Regions from separate parts of the Homo sapiens genome. Here regions 1, 2 and 3 are each linked to region 4. Evidence: promoter capture Hi-C in 16 types of primary human blood cells and fetal thymus (Javierre and others, 2016). All regions are on one chromosome and are shown on one strand. Each heading gives the region's core, a stretch centred on a gene start or on the middle of the fragment in contact. The rest is flanking DNA. Distances are from core to core; before and after follow the strand shown. Region 1 has its middle 23 kb from the start of MTAP. Region 2 has its middle 3.9 kb from the start of MTAP. Region 3 overlaps LOC107987026 (a long non-coding RNA gene). Region 4 holds the start of IFNA13 (interferon alpha 13).

Region 1 (3,262 bases), core at 346-2,845, 410 kb after region 4:
GTGGTGTGAAAGGAGCCTGGGAGGTTCTGAAGCCCTTTTAAGTTGAGCTGGGGGCAGTGTCAAAAGGGAGATAGGATAATAGCCCCTCTACTGTTAACTGTAAACTGTGAGTCTCCTTTAAAATCTTTGACACAAGCAGTTAAATGGTCTGGTTCTTAAGATTTACCAAATTATGTTGCAATCAATTTTCTGTATCTGTCTGCACTAAGCTTTAAATTGCCCCAGCAGAAATCTTTTCTTATGTATCTTTTCATTTTCAGCACCTAGATTAAGAAACATTTGAGGTACTGAAGTTAACTGCTTAAAGAACCAAAGACAAGGTTTTGTTGTGCTAAAGTGAAGTAACCAAATAAGGCAACATTTTTTGTTAGCATTTCTGGATTGTAATTTTACCAGGCCGGAAGTGTTACTAAATGCACTCATATTTTTAACCACAAACAGGACTTTCCTTTTTTACTAGTTCAAAGAGTTAAAATAGTTTCTGCCAGGAATTGATGCAATAATATATGTGTTTAAGTGTTACATTAAGAAATCAATATTTCTAGCTTGCACTAAGCACATTAAGCATCCCTTAACTTAAAAGTGTGAACAGTGTGTTCGCTTGAGATTAATTTCATAAAACGAAAAGATAAATTAGATCACCTAACCTAAGGAGACAATGAGATGCCAGCATTGTCTTTAGTTCTAAACTCTGCTCTATTTGGGGCATAGATTTTTTTTTCCCTTTCTCAGAGCTTGTTGTTTGGATCAGGGAGATCTAATGCAATAAGGAAAGTAAAGAGACATTCCCTTCAAAAAATCTGCCTTCTGCTCTCAGCTTCTACAGTGAGTAGAATCCTATTGTATTTCTTATAATTATTATCTCATAAAACCAAATACCAGATGTTCAACGTGATGGTCTGCAACTTTTTTTTTTCAATCATTCTTATATGGCATATCACAATAAACCGCAAAGTTAAGAATTCATTTATAAGAAAAAATAGAAGAACAAGATAATTTTATCTGGATGAAACCAGATATAATAAAAAAGATTCAAAGAAAAATTTTCAAATACGTAAAGATTTGAAAAATCACAATTATGTAAATCAAAAAACTACAATGGAAGGGAAAATTATTTTCATCAGATGTAAAAAAAAAAGGGTTCATATCTAAATTTAAGTGTATAAGAAAATAATTCCGCCCAAGCAAGGTGGCTCACACCTTAATCTCCACACTTTGGGAAGCCAACCTGGGAGGATTGCTTGCTCCCAGGAGTTCAAGACCAGCCTTGGCGATGTAGGGAGACCCCATCTCTACAGAAAATTAAAAAATTAGCTAGGTGTGGGTGCACATGCCTGCAATCTCAGCTACTTGGAGGCTGAGGTGGGTGGATTGCCTGAACCCAGGAGATCAAGGCTGCAGTGATTCATGATTGCACCACTGCATTTCAGCTCGGATGACAGAGTGAGACTCTGTCTCAATAAAAAAGAAAAGAAAAGAATTTCAAGAGTTCAGTGGTCAAATGATATGAGCAAGACTTCACACAAGAAGAGATATAAACATTTGTTTATATCTATCAAATAATAATACAAATTCTAGTGATGACATGCTGTAAAATATTCACATAATACGATATTGTAACTTAGGGCAACCATTTTAGAAAGTTTTATTGAAATGTCATTCTTCTAAAAGTTCACATTTTATCTTTAGCAATTATGTTCCTTAAGCAAAAAACAATAGAATTAATATAAATTTTCCAACATGTTCCTTGTGATATTACTTTACAGTTATGAAATATAATTATATTTTGCCTCACTCAAAAACAAGGGTAAATCTGAGTGCCGTCTTGCATATATAATAAAATAATAGTAGGAACAACCTGTACATATTACAACAAAAGTATCGTTATAATACTATAAAAGGTATGTGGCATTCTTGCACTATTGCAGGAAATGATGCAACAACTTGATGGAGCTATTAAAAGTAACACATGAAGTCTATATAGCCAAATCAAAAAGATATTTATGCAGAAAAAAGAAAAAATAAGTTTAAAATTGCATGTGTACAGAGATTACACCCCATAAACACATATAGAATTTGGATTAAGATTAAAAGGAGCTACATTCCTTGGCGATCATCAAAAAGTCAGGAAACAACAGGTGCCGGAGAGGATGTGGAGAAATAGGAACATTTTTACACTGTTGGTGGGACTGTAAACTAGTTCAACCATGGTTGAAGTCAGTGTGGCGATTCCTCAAGGATCTAGAACTAGAAATACCATTTGACCCAGCCATCCCATTACTGGGTATATACCCAAAGGATTATAAATCATGCTGCTATAAAGACACATGCACACATATGTTTACTGCAGCACTATTCACAATAGCAAAGACTTGGAACCAACCCAAATGTCCATCAATGATAGACTGGATTAAGAAAATGTGGCACATATACACCATGGAATACTATGCAGCCATAAAAAAGGATGAGTTCATGTCCTTTGTAGGGACATGGATGAAGCTGGAAACCATCATTCTCAGCAAACTATCGCAAGGACAAAAAACCAAACACTGCATGTTCTCACTCATAGGTGGGAAGTGAACAATGAGAACGCTTGGACACAGGACGGGGAACATCACACACCGGGGCCTGTCATGGGGTGGGGGGAGAGGGGAGAGATAGCATTAGGAGATATACCTAATGTAAATGATGAGTTAATAGGTGCAGCACACCAACATGGCACATGTATACATATGTAACAAACCTGCACGTTGTGCACATGTACCCTAGAACTTAAAGTATAATTTAAAAAGGAGCTACGTTCTTAATATATTCATTTCAAAATTGATAATAGTAGTAGCTAATATTTGCTAAGCACTTACGATGTGTCAAGCACTGTTCTAAGTACTTTGTATATTTAATCTAATATAATCCTGAAACAACCTCATTCGTTAGCTACTATTAATATCTCTATGTTATAGGTGAGGAAACTGAAGTGCAAAGAAGCTTAATAAGTTTTTTCAAGTTCACTCAGCTACAAAAGGGAATAGGTGGAATTCAAACCTATGCAATGTGACCTCATGAAAATAGAACTATAGATTATTTTTTTCATGCTGTCCTATATTATGATTGAAATATTGCTCAAATTATTTTTAAAAGAAGGAATTTTCTGTAATCTTTTCCACTCCAAAAAAGCTAAATGTGTAGAAAACATATCTCTGTAGTGCTTTACCAAATTCTGTAGTATTTCTCTAACTCTTTGAGGATTACTTAGTCTAAAAAG
Region 2 (2,997 bases), core at 296-2,795, 430 kb after region 4:
AAAAGATCTTCTGGTTTCTATTATCCACCTTGGGGAAGAAGGATTCTAGTTTCTATGGTAGCATCAGGGGGATAATGGGCGTGAAAGACAGGCAGGAGAAGGTCAGAGAAAAACTTTCGCTTTTGAGGCTGCTTCTGAGGACTTCCTTTTTGGGGTGTTGTTATCTGAATCTCAACAGTGGAAAAAATAATAATTAATCAAGAGTTTAGACTTTGCAATTAGGACAGATTCAGGACTGAATCTCAATTACTTTAGTTATATAAATTTGAGAAGACTTCTTAAATGCTCTGAGCCTCATGTTCCTCATGCAATGATAGTGATAATAACACCAACACTTGTCCTTTCTCAAACATCACATCCTACCTAGAATTTAATTATCTCAATTTAAGGCTTAATACCTGTAAAATTCATAAACCCCTGGGTGAGGTAACATTTTAAGGTGATTTTGGCAACTTAACAGGTTTGATAGGTTTGATTGACATTTTGATGGGCTAGAGAGAGGGAAGTCCTGAAGATTCCAAACGGACAAGGAAGCTTTGGGGAGAGGCAAATAAGCAGAAAAGATGAAGTTACAGCAATTCAACTTCTCTCTCTCTCCTCCTCTGTAAAATGGAAATTACATTAATAGCAATGACATTAATATCTGTGAGGATTAAATGAAGAATATGTGGCTCTTAATAAATATTAGCTGTTTTGTTGTTGCTCTTGAAGATGCTCAGAAGACAAATATGACTTTGTTCCCAATTTGTTTTTAGGATTGTATGTACAGACAACATATGGATTTGCCAGAGAAGAAAAGCAATGCTTTTAGACTTATTTCCTGCCTTAAGTTTTTAAAGTGGAATAAAGAGCAGTGGGTCACATAAGAGCTCATTATATGGGTCTTTCATCATAGCTTTAGATCCTGACACGCTAAGCAGAGATTATGTTGCATCTGTGATATTAAAATACATCTGGGTATCTATTACTTTTTGGCCCTTTTCTATACAAAGCACAGAAGCTGAGAATCATGTCTCTTCAGATCAAGATTGAACATACTCTCTCTTTCACTGAGGGAGGTATAGGGTTCAGGGCTTAATCTTACACTTTGCTTATCCTATAACAGAAATAATAATACCTATTATTATTTATAATAGGTATGTGAAGATCCTGGGAGTCCAGGGTAGATGGCCATTCTGTTAACCTGAATATGCTTTTAATGTGCAGCATTAATCTAAGAAAAGTGAAAAAATGGTGAGATTTTACTTCAAAAAATCCAAATTATATGCAACTTAAGTCATCTTCAGTAGAGTTTCAGAAATGATAGGGGAGATACAATTTGAAGTGAACTTTGAAGACAAGACAAGGTGATTTGCAATGAAGGATATTTCTAGGGTAAAAGGGACTTTGAATAGAAGGAACGAATAAAGAAAACTGAAGGAGAACTTGATTCTATTGCAACAAGAAACATATGGCTAATTCCAACTATCTGGAGCATACCAACTTTAAAGCAGACTGTCAAAACTGACCCTACTTAACTCATTTTAAAGCATGGGGTTCTTCCCTCAACCAAAAACACAGATGCCAGGTTACACTTTATAACTGGACTCTCCACTTTCATTAAAGGTCATTATAAGGAATTGCCACCTAAAATGTGATGTAAATATTTTTTGAGAAACCTAGTATATCACTTGCAATTCCCTCTATAAAGTACCTGCAATAAATGCATTTTTAATATTAGATTTCAGTAATATTTTCTTCACTTGTGACATACTACTTATTTTGTTTTATCACTATGATAATGGGAGAATGGAACACTTCTCTTTGTTTTTTGTTCTTATTTCCTTAAAGTTTTAGAGTAATAGTCACATACTAACCTATAAGAAATTTAGAAAGGTTCAATTAGGCCTTCTATGACAAAAATATCTAAGTCTCTAGTTACTAAAATGTTAATGTTTATGTTGTATCATGGTCTATACTGCAGAGTCAGGGTAAAGACACATAGCTGTATTTTTTAGATCAATAATTTGTTCAGTTATTTACAATCAAGAGTGTTAAGAGAACTTGGATTGCAGACAAATCTCTTATACATTTATCCAATTATATTCAATGTTTTTTCAGAAGGGTACCTTAGGACTGGCCTGGTACATACTTGCATATCTTTTGCTTCTTAATAAACACTAGCCACTATTTTCTTTTCAGTACATTTTTTTTCCTTCTTGGGCAGGATAAAGAGAAGTTGATTATTCTGATAATTGCCTGTGGAGAAGTTTCTTTGGATACAATTTTATTAAGGGCATTGAGTCTCTGAGTTTAACTTTTTTCTTCCCAATGACCACACTGTGCACAACGATGATGTTGTGGATTTTGAACCTGAATTTATACCAGTTCAGACATCTTTGGCTTCTTCATGCTGGCATAGGCTTGCCTGGCTGAGAATCTGAAGATGCAATAATTTTTAAAATGTATTACTGTCATTATTATAATTAGTTTACTTATTGTTCCCCCAGATATTTTTTCAACAATGTTCTGCTAAATCTAGAGTGGCTGCTTGCTAATAGAACTTTAGCTTTTTCACAAAGCTTCCAATGTGGGAATCTAATCCATTGTCAAAAGTAGTGGCCAAAATGTCCCTACTCATTGTGGCTGTGATACAGGTGTATTGTAAAAAGATGTGATTCACACACCATTGGGGATCTCTAAGCACACCTCCATGTTATTTAGAATTTTTATTTTGGCCCAAATATCTACAAGGTAGTGGGGAGTTATGTGAGTTTCTTAGGCCATGACAACTTGCCAGCTTTAATACCTTCAGATGAGGATGGGTTACCAGCCAGCTTGGGCCCATTTTGTAGTACCCATCCAGGACAGACATACTGGTCAGGGGCAGAAATATAACAATTCAGTGGGAAAGCTGATATGGTTGGCTGAGGTGATACATTTCATGCATTTGTGTGAATACTTCCTCCTGAAGATTTGATGATTCTGGAATGGTTTGGAGACGACTTCAAAAATAAC
Region 3 (3,066 bases), core at 225-2,724, 390 kb after region 4:
GAGTCACTGACATCTTGTCAATTACAGTAGCCAACCTCTCTACCTGTATATCTGCAGGAAATTGGCCGAGATACAAATTTAGGAAATGTAAGGTGTCATTCTTTCAGGGAAGGTACAATAGCTCCAGGAAGTGGATAAAATGATCTCTCAAAAGGAAGAAGGGGGTATCAAGTTCCCCACCCCTCCTCCTTGGTTTTCATTATGTCCCCTCATTGTTTTTTATTTCAAAATTCGAATAATGTGCAAGCTTTGATACATCCAGGTTTTTAATCCTGCCAAGAAAACATTGTACTTTTGAGATAATCAAGTAGACAGCACTACTCTTAATCTTGACAAAAAGAAAAGAAAAAATAAATAAACCACAGAGCTGATGAGAAGACCCTAAAGGACTCAGAGCTTGTAATGACACACATTATTTCCTTTAGTTTGAGTTTTTCCTTTCATGAAGAAAACTCTAAGATATACAAAAATAGTTCTTTATGGCTTGAAGCTCTTATATTGCTAATGGCTTTTGACAGTGGTATTACAGCTTGTTTAATCCAATTGAATTTGATTATTCATTCAGTAAGAAGATAAATTAGTTGACAGAGGAAATGTTTTTCAGTCACTGGTTCATATTAATGTCTGAAAATTCAGTTGTCCAGAAAAAAAGAGATAGGGGTAGAAGAGAAGCCAAAGAGATATAATTCTAATCAAGGATTTTCCTGAAATTTGAATTTGACTATGAAGAAAGTATTGATTGTGGGGAGAAATAATGTTAATTCCCTAAAACACAGGGTGAGAACTTTTTAATGGAGTACACATTACTCATCAAAATATAGTCCCAAACTATATTATCAAACATGTCTAACCCACTTTACACACATACACACACACACACACACACACACACCACCCTACGATGCAGTTATATGAATCTTTATTGTTTACTAAACATAATACATTTCCTCCTTCCCCACTTACGTGCCTTTGCACATTGTATTCTTTGTATCCTCTTCCTAGAATGCTCTTCTTTAAATTGATAAACTTATCCTTCAAAATGCAACAAAAATACCACCTTTTCAATGAAGTCCTTCAGAATCCCCCCAGTGTCCCATAGAAATTTGCATATCCTCTTAATTCAATGTCCTGCAACCTTCTTTGCACATTAGCACCCCTGGGATTTGGCATGATCCTATCAGTAATGCTGTCTCAGTGGGGTTTTATATGAGAAGGGGCTTTCTATGGGTGAGGCAACAATGGTTCTCTCTTGTGAGGTTGAAATTTCCAGGGTATGAGTTTAATTTGAAACACCCACAACTCCCCTTCCCCACCCCTACCCCAGCATAAACTCTGGCATATCCACTTCCTATTCCATGGACAATCACTGCTTCACTGCTCCACTTATTACTGTTGTCATAACATCTTGTGAATATTTGTTTCCGCCTCTCTTTCTGATACTAGATGGTATTATTCATTTTTATGGTCAATGTTCCCCTTCTCACAGTGAAGTATTTCACATATAGGAGGTGCTCAATAAATGTTTGTTCTAAGAACAAGGGCATGAATGAATGAGTAAATGCCTGAGTAACAGAATGATTTCTAGGACATCATAGGATTCGGCATCCTTAACTGGTGAAGAGATGAACCAAAACACAGTTATACTCTTGTGCAGGGAGTGGTCTGGGTAGCTTTAATTTGTCAGTAACCCCCAGCCACATGTTGCTATTGTGTATCTGAAGTGTGAATAATCTGAATTGAGATGTGCTGTGAGTGTAAAACTTCACACTGGATTTAGGAGACAGTATAAATACCTATATATATATCTACATATATATAAAATATATCAGTATCAAAAAGCAAAACATCTCAATTTTTATGTTGATTACTTGTTGAGATATTTTGATCTATTGAGTTGAAGTATATTAGTAAAATTAATTTCACCTGTTTCTTTTTATTTTTCTAATGTGACTGGTAAAAAAAAATTGCATATGTAGCTCACATGGCATGCATTATATTATATTTCTCTTGAACAGCACTGGTCTTAAGAAATGAATCTCAGGCCCTGAATGGTTGAGTCTAACTTTGGCCCACTCAGATGAAAGTCTCTGTGCAGGCAAACGAAGGAAGTTGATGTGCACACTGATCTCCTTGAAAGTGCATTGAAGCTATACTGAAGAGCACTGGGATCAACAGTAATCTTTCAATAATTTCTGGTTCTCCACTATTTTCCAGGTATCTAATCTGATCCACACTTCTCACTGCGCTTCTTATCACATATCATTAGGTATTAGTTGTGTGCACCCTTCACCTCAGCACCAAGGCTGTGTTAGCTTCACTCTTAAGGTCCTTCACCTACTAATAACTTTCCCTTTACCGGGACAACACAGATGCTGCCCAAGCTGCAGTCTTCCTATCCCCTACCCCCAAGTATCTTACTGAGGCACCCCTTGCTATGGATTCCCATTGCACTGATAGCATTTTCAACATTATATTGTAATTTGCTGTGTGTCTCAATAACTAGCCTATAAGTTCTTTGAAGGCAGAGACTCTCACAATCAATATTTAAATGTTACACACCAAGAGAATAAATCAGTTCAGTGATGATCTAATTTGCCCATAAATTTCCATCAAACATCTGCCCTAGAGAAATCATACTTCTTTAAAAAAAAAACATATATTATCTGACATAAAGAAAACATATCAAAGCCCTAGCTGGAATCAAGCTTGATGACTAAAATCTACTTAATCCTCAAAAAGCCTTGTGTCAGGACCCACCTTCTGCAAAAGCATTACAGTTTATTATGGAAAAGCGATTGCTAAAACACGTTGGCTTCCTTTTTCCTGTCAGGAGATCTCATTCCAGTGTTAACCTGAGGAGCCTGCATATATTTGCCTTTGTCCCAGAAATATATAAGTGTTCCTGTGCTGTGGAGAATTAGGCACTGGGAAGTTAAGAGAGGGAGAGAGAGAGAGCCCAGAATTGGAGTCCCAGTCTTCTAAATGCAACCTATAGCTTGGAAATAAATTAGACTTTTAAAGACAGATATTTATTGGAGGTACTCCTAACAAATTTTTACCTACTCA
Region 4 (3,230 bases), core at 709-3,208:
AACACCATGCCTGGCCAAATTTTTGGTTTTTAGTAGAGACAGGGTTTCACCATATTGTCCAGGCTGGTCTTGAACCCCTGAACTCAAGTGATCCACCCACCTTGGCTTCCAAAGTGCTGAGATTACAAACATGAGCCACTGCACCCAGTCCCTTTTCTGATATATATGCACTAATTAAGAAAATAATAACCATATATTTATAAAATAAGAAAATAAGCATATATACATATGTTTTATATATATACACTATATATAAAATATATATATAGTGTGTGTGTGTATGTGTGTGTGTGTGTATATATATACATATATATACGTATATATATATATGTACGTATATATATACACACACACACACATACACACACACACACACACACACATACATTCTAGAGGCTGGTCTGCCTGAGATTTAGGCAGAGACACAGTTCCAGACCATATTAATCACCATTGTCTCTATTTGTCCATCCCTCTGTTTCCTTTGTGGCTCTTCTCTTCCTTCCCTTTAAAGGTGGAAGGTCCTTAGAATCACGTTTAAGTCCTTTTCTCTGTCTACACTCTCTCCACACATGAGCACTTTCATTTCTGGGATTTTGCTTGCCACATATGAACTCCCAGCAATTGCATTCCTTATAATTTGCAAACTCACATATCCAACTGGCAATAGACAGTTTCTACCACATGTTGTATCAGTCAACTTATAGAGGATATCTGTTTATTTTTATTTCCTCACATGTTTCAGTTTACCTCCTGCCGAAAGAAATCATTGTTCATTCCTTTTTCTCCTTATAGTATTCAGGATAACTGATACTAAGTATGATTACTATTTTTAGTTTTATTCCATACAAAAATCAAACATGCAAGAGAGTAGGAAGTAGATTTATTGTATTCACCTTTATAACTTGAGTACAACATACAACCTGGTTTAGAGAAAGGTCATTTTTACTTACATCTCTCATATAATAATGATGAGTAAATAAATTATACCCTTTATTCTCTCATCAGGTTGCACAGTCAGGCTAGGAATTTTGTATTAAAGAATGAACACATACAGGAAGTTCCTATAGTAAAAGTTTAATGAACAACATAAAATAATGAATTGAGTAGATATAAGGAACATGTTTTATTACACTAACCACAGTGTAAAGATGCACATGATGTTATATGAACAAAAATAATTTAAATCTTATGAATAGCTAAATAAATATTTAAATAGATAAATCAGTTTATCAGCATGGTCATAGTTATAGCAGAAGTGAGAGTCTTTGAAATGGCAGAATTCATGAAAGCGTGACCTGGTATATGAGTCAATAAGAATTGTTTCATGTTGGACCAGGTGTTATTCCTTCCTCCTTAATCTTTCTTGCAAGTTTGTTGATAAAGAGAGGGATCTCATGATTTCTGCTCTGACAACCTCCCAGGCACAAGGGCTGTATTTCTTCTCTGTCAGATAGAGAGTGATTCTTCGGAAGTATTTCTTCACAGCCAAGATGGAGTCCGCATTCATCAGGGGAGTTTCTCCCACCCTCTCCTCCTGCATCACACAGGCTTCCAAGTCATTCAGCTGCTGGTAGAGTTCGGTGCAGAATTTGTCTAGGAGGTCCTCATCCCAAGCAGCAGATGAATCTTTTGTGGTAAAGAGGTTGAAGATCTGCTGGATCAGCTCATGGAGGACAGAGATGGCTGGAGCCTTCTGGAACTGGTTGCCATCAAACTCCTCCTGGGGAAATCCAAAGTCATGTCTGTCCATCAGACAGGAGGAAGGAGAGATTCTGCTCATTTGTGCCAGGAGCATCAAGGTCCTCCTGTTATCCAGGCTGTGGGTCTCAGGGAGATCACAGCCCAGAGAGCAGCTTGACTTGCAGCTGAGCACCACCAGGGCCATCAGTAAAGCAAAGGGCGAGGCCATCATAGATATTGCAGATGCTTCTGGGCTTGCTGAGATGGGTGACTCTGAACCTTGGGCTCTAGGTTCTCTGAAGGCTTTGCTTCCTGCAGATGCCTTAAATAGGGAACATACTGATTTCCACTTTCTTAATGCTTCTGGACCACTTTCCATTTCTGTTTTTGCTTTCCTTCTTGAACTCTTTACATGAGTTTAGAGCCGTGTTTCTCAACCATTTTGTTTTTCATTATTGTCTCCCCCATCTTGTTCCCAGAGACTTTTTAGATTTTTTTTCCTAATTGAACCCACCGTGAAAATTTAATAACACAGATATAATATCTATCTATTTGTGTACTATATGTATATCTCTATACTCAAAAAGTACAAAGTTTAATCATTTTATTCAATGCAAGTTTAAAAATAACCAAATGAAAATTTTAAGATAAAAGTTAAATTTAAACGCTATTCAAATTTAACTTAACTTTATAACTAAATTTGCTTGTGGGCTTCAATATAGTTTATTTACTGATATAAATTGTAATGTATTAAATTACATAAGAAATTTAACAAATTATAAACATTATCTAATGTTTCTAGATAAACATTATACAGCTAAGTAATGAATGTTTATGAATTATTTGAAACTGATAAAGACTTAATAATTTAAAATATTTTTATCATTTATTTTTATTATACTTAACTTTTAATTTTGTTGCATGTGAGAAAATTTTTAACTTCACTAGCTGCTAGATACTCACCTAGAGAGTGTGAAGAATTTTTTCTTCAATTCTTGACCTAAATATAGATGTGTTGAACAACTTCAGTAGAATTGTTAAAATATAAATTATTTATATTTCATTTCAAAGCCCACAACACAGACAGAAATGCTAAGGATCAAACATAAGCAATATCTATAAGATGGCCAGTGACAAACCATATGTATGCAGAGGACACCTCTCATGATATGACTTTGAGATCTAATACATCTTGGAAAGTACTCCAATCACAGCTACCCATTTGCCATAGGTTTGTAATGCTGAACTTTTATACCTTTTGTGTATCTTCCATGAACTCAATGTCAGTGCTTCTCATGTGATACACAAGAAAACCCAATGGAGAGAAAAAAAAAAAAACTAAGGAATAAGATTTTGTTAAATAGGTTGAGCTTTGAAGGGCCACAAACCATTTAAATATGTAAGATTTGTTCCCACTCCCAAGAACTAACTTCTACATCCTTGGGAGTAGTATCATATGCAATGAGAATACACAATTGAAAAAACATCCTCGATTTGATTAAAAATTTTTTGCATGAAAGTTCAAATTTCCAAGGTGCCTTCAGAGGTTC

What was found. Contacts are between HindIII fragments. The CHiCAGO score rates a contact against its expected background, and 5 or more counts as called.
Region 1: a contact is called between a fragment that was not itself captured here and the fragment with the promoter of IFNA13 in region 4, in 6 of 17 cell types (naive CD4 T cells, naive CD8 T cells, M1 macrophages and 3 more). The highest score is 6.1, in naive CD4 T cells.
Region 2: a fragment that was not itself captured here is called in contact with the fragment with the promoter of IFNA13 in region 4 in 2 of 17 cell types (total B cells and naive B cells); the score reaches 5.2 in total B cells.
Region 3: a fragment that was not itself captured here is called in contact with the fragment with the promoter of IFNA13 in region 4 in 1 of 17 cell types (M1 macrophages); the score reaches 5.4 in M1 macrophages.

Annotation. Positions count from the first base shown.
Region 1 is chr9:21,778,193-21,781,454 of GRCh38, forward strand. No RefSeq gene overlaps it. Among named protein-coding and RNA genes, the nearest start is that of MTAP, 23 kb to the right of the region's middle. The HindIII fragment of the contact is 2,776 bases long and covers 208-2,983 here.
Region 2 is chr9:21,797,201-21,800,197 of GRCh38, forward strand. No RefSeq gene overlaps it. Among named protein-coding and RNA genes, the nearest start is that of MTAP, 3.9 kb to the right of the region's middle. The HindIII fragment of the contact is 2,027 bases long and covers 533-2,559 here.
Region 3 is chr9:21,754,934-21,757,999 of GRCh38, forward strand. The region is part of intron 1 of LOC107987026 (a long non-coding RNA gene); the gene reads right to left. Among named protein-coding and RNA genes, the nearest start is that of MTAP, 46 kb to the right of the region's middle. The HindIII fragment of the contact is 2,458 bases long and covers 246-2,703 here.
Region 4 is chr9:21,366,099-21,369,328 of GRCh38, forward strand. It overlaps IFNA13 (interferon alpha 13), which reads right to left and starts at 1,959. Exons shown (of 1, transcript NM_006900.4): 1 at 1,274-1,959. The coding sequence starts at 1,912. The coding sequence ends at 1,340. The HindIII fragment of the contact is 13,511 bases long and covers 1-3,230 here.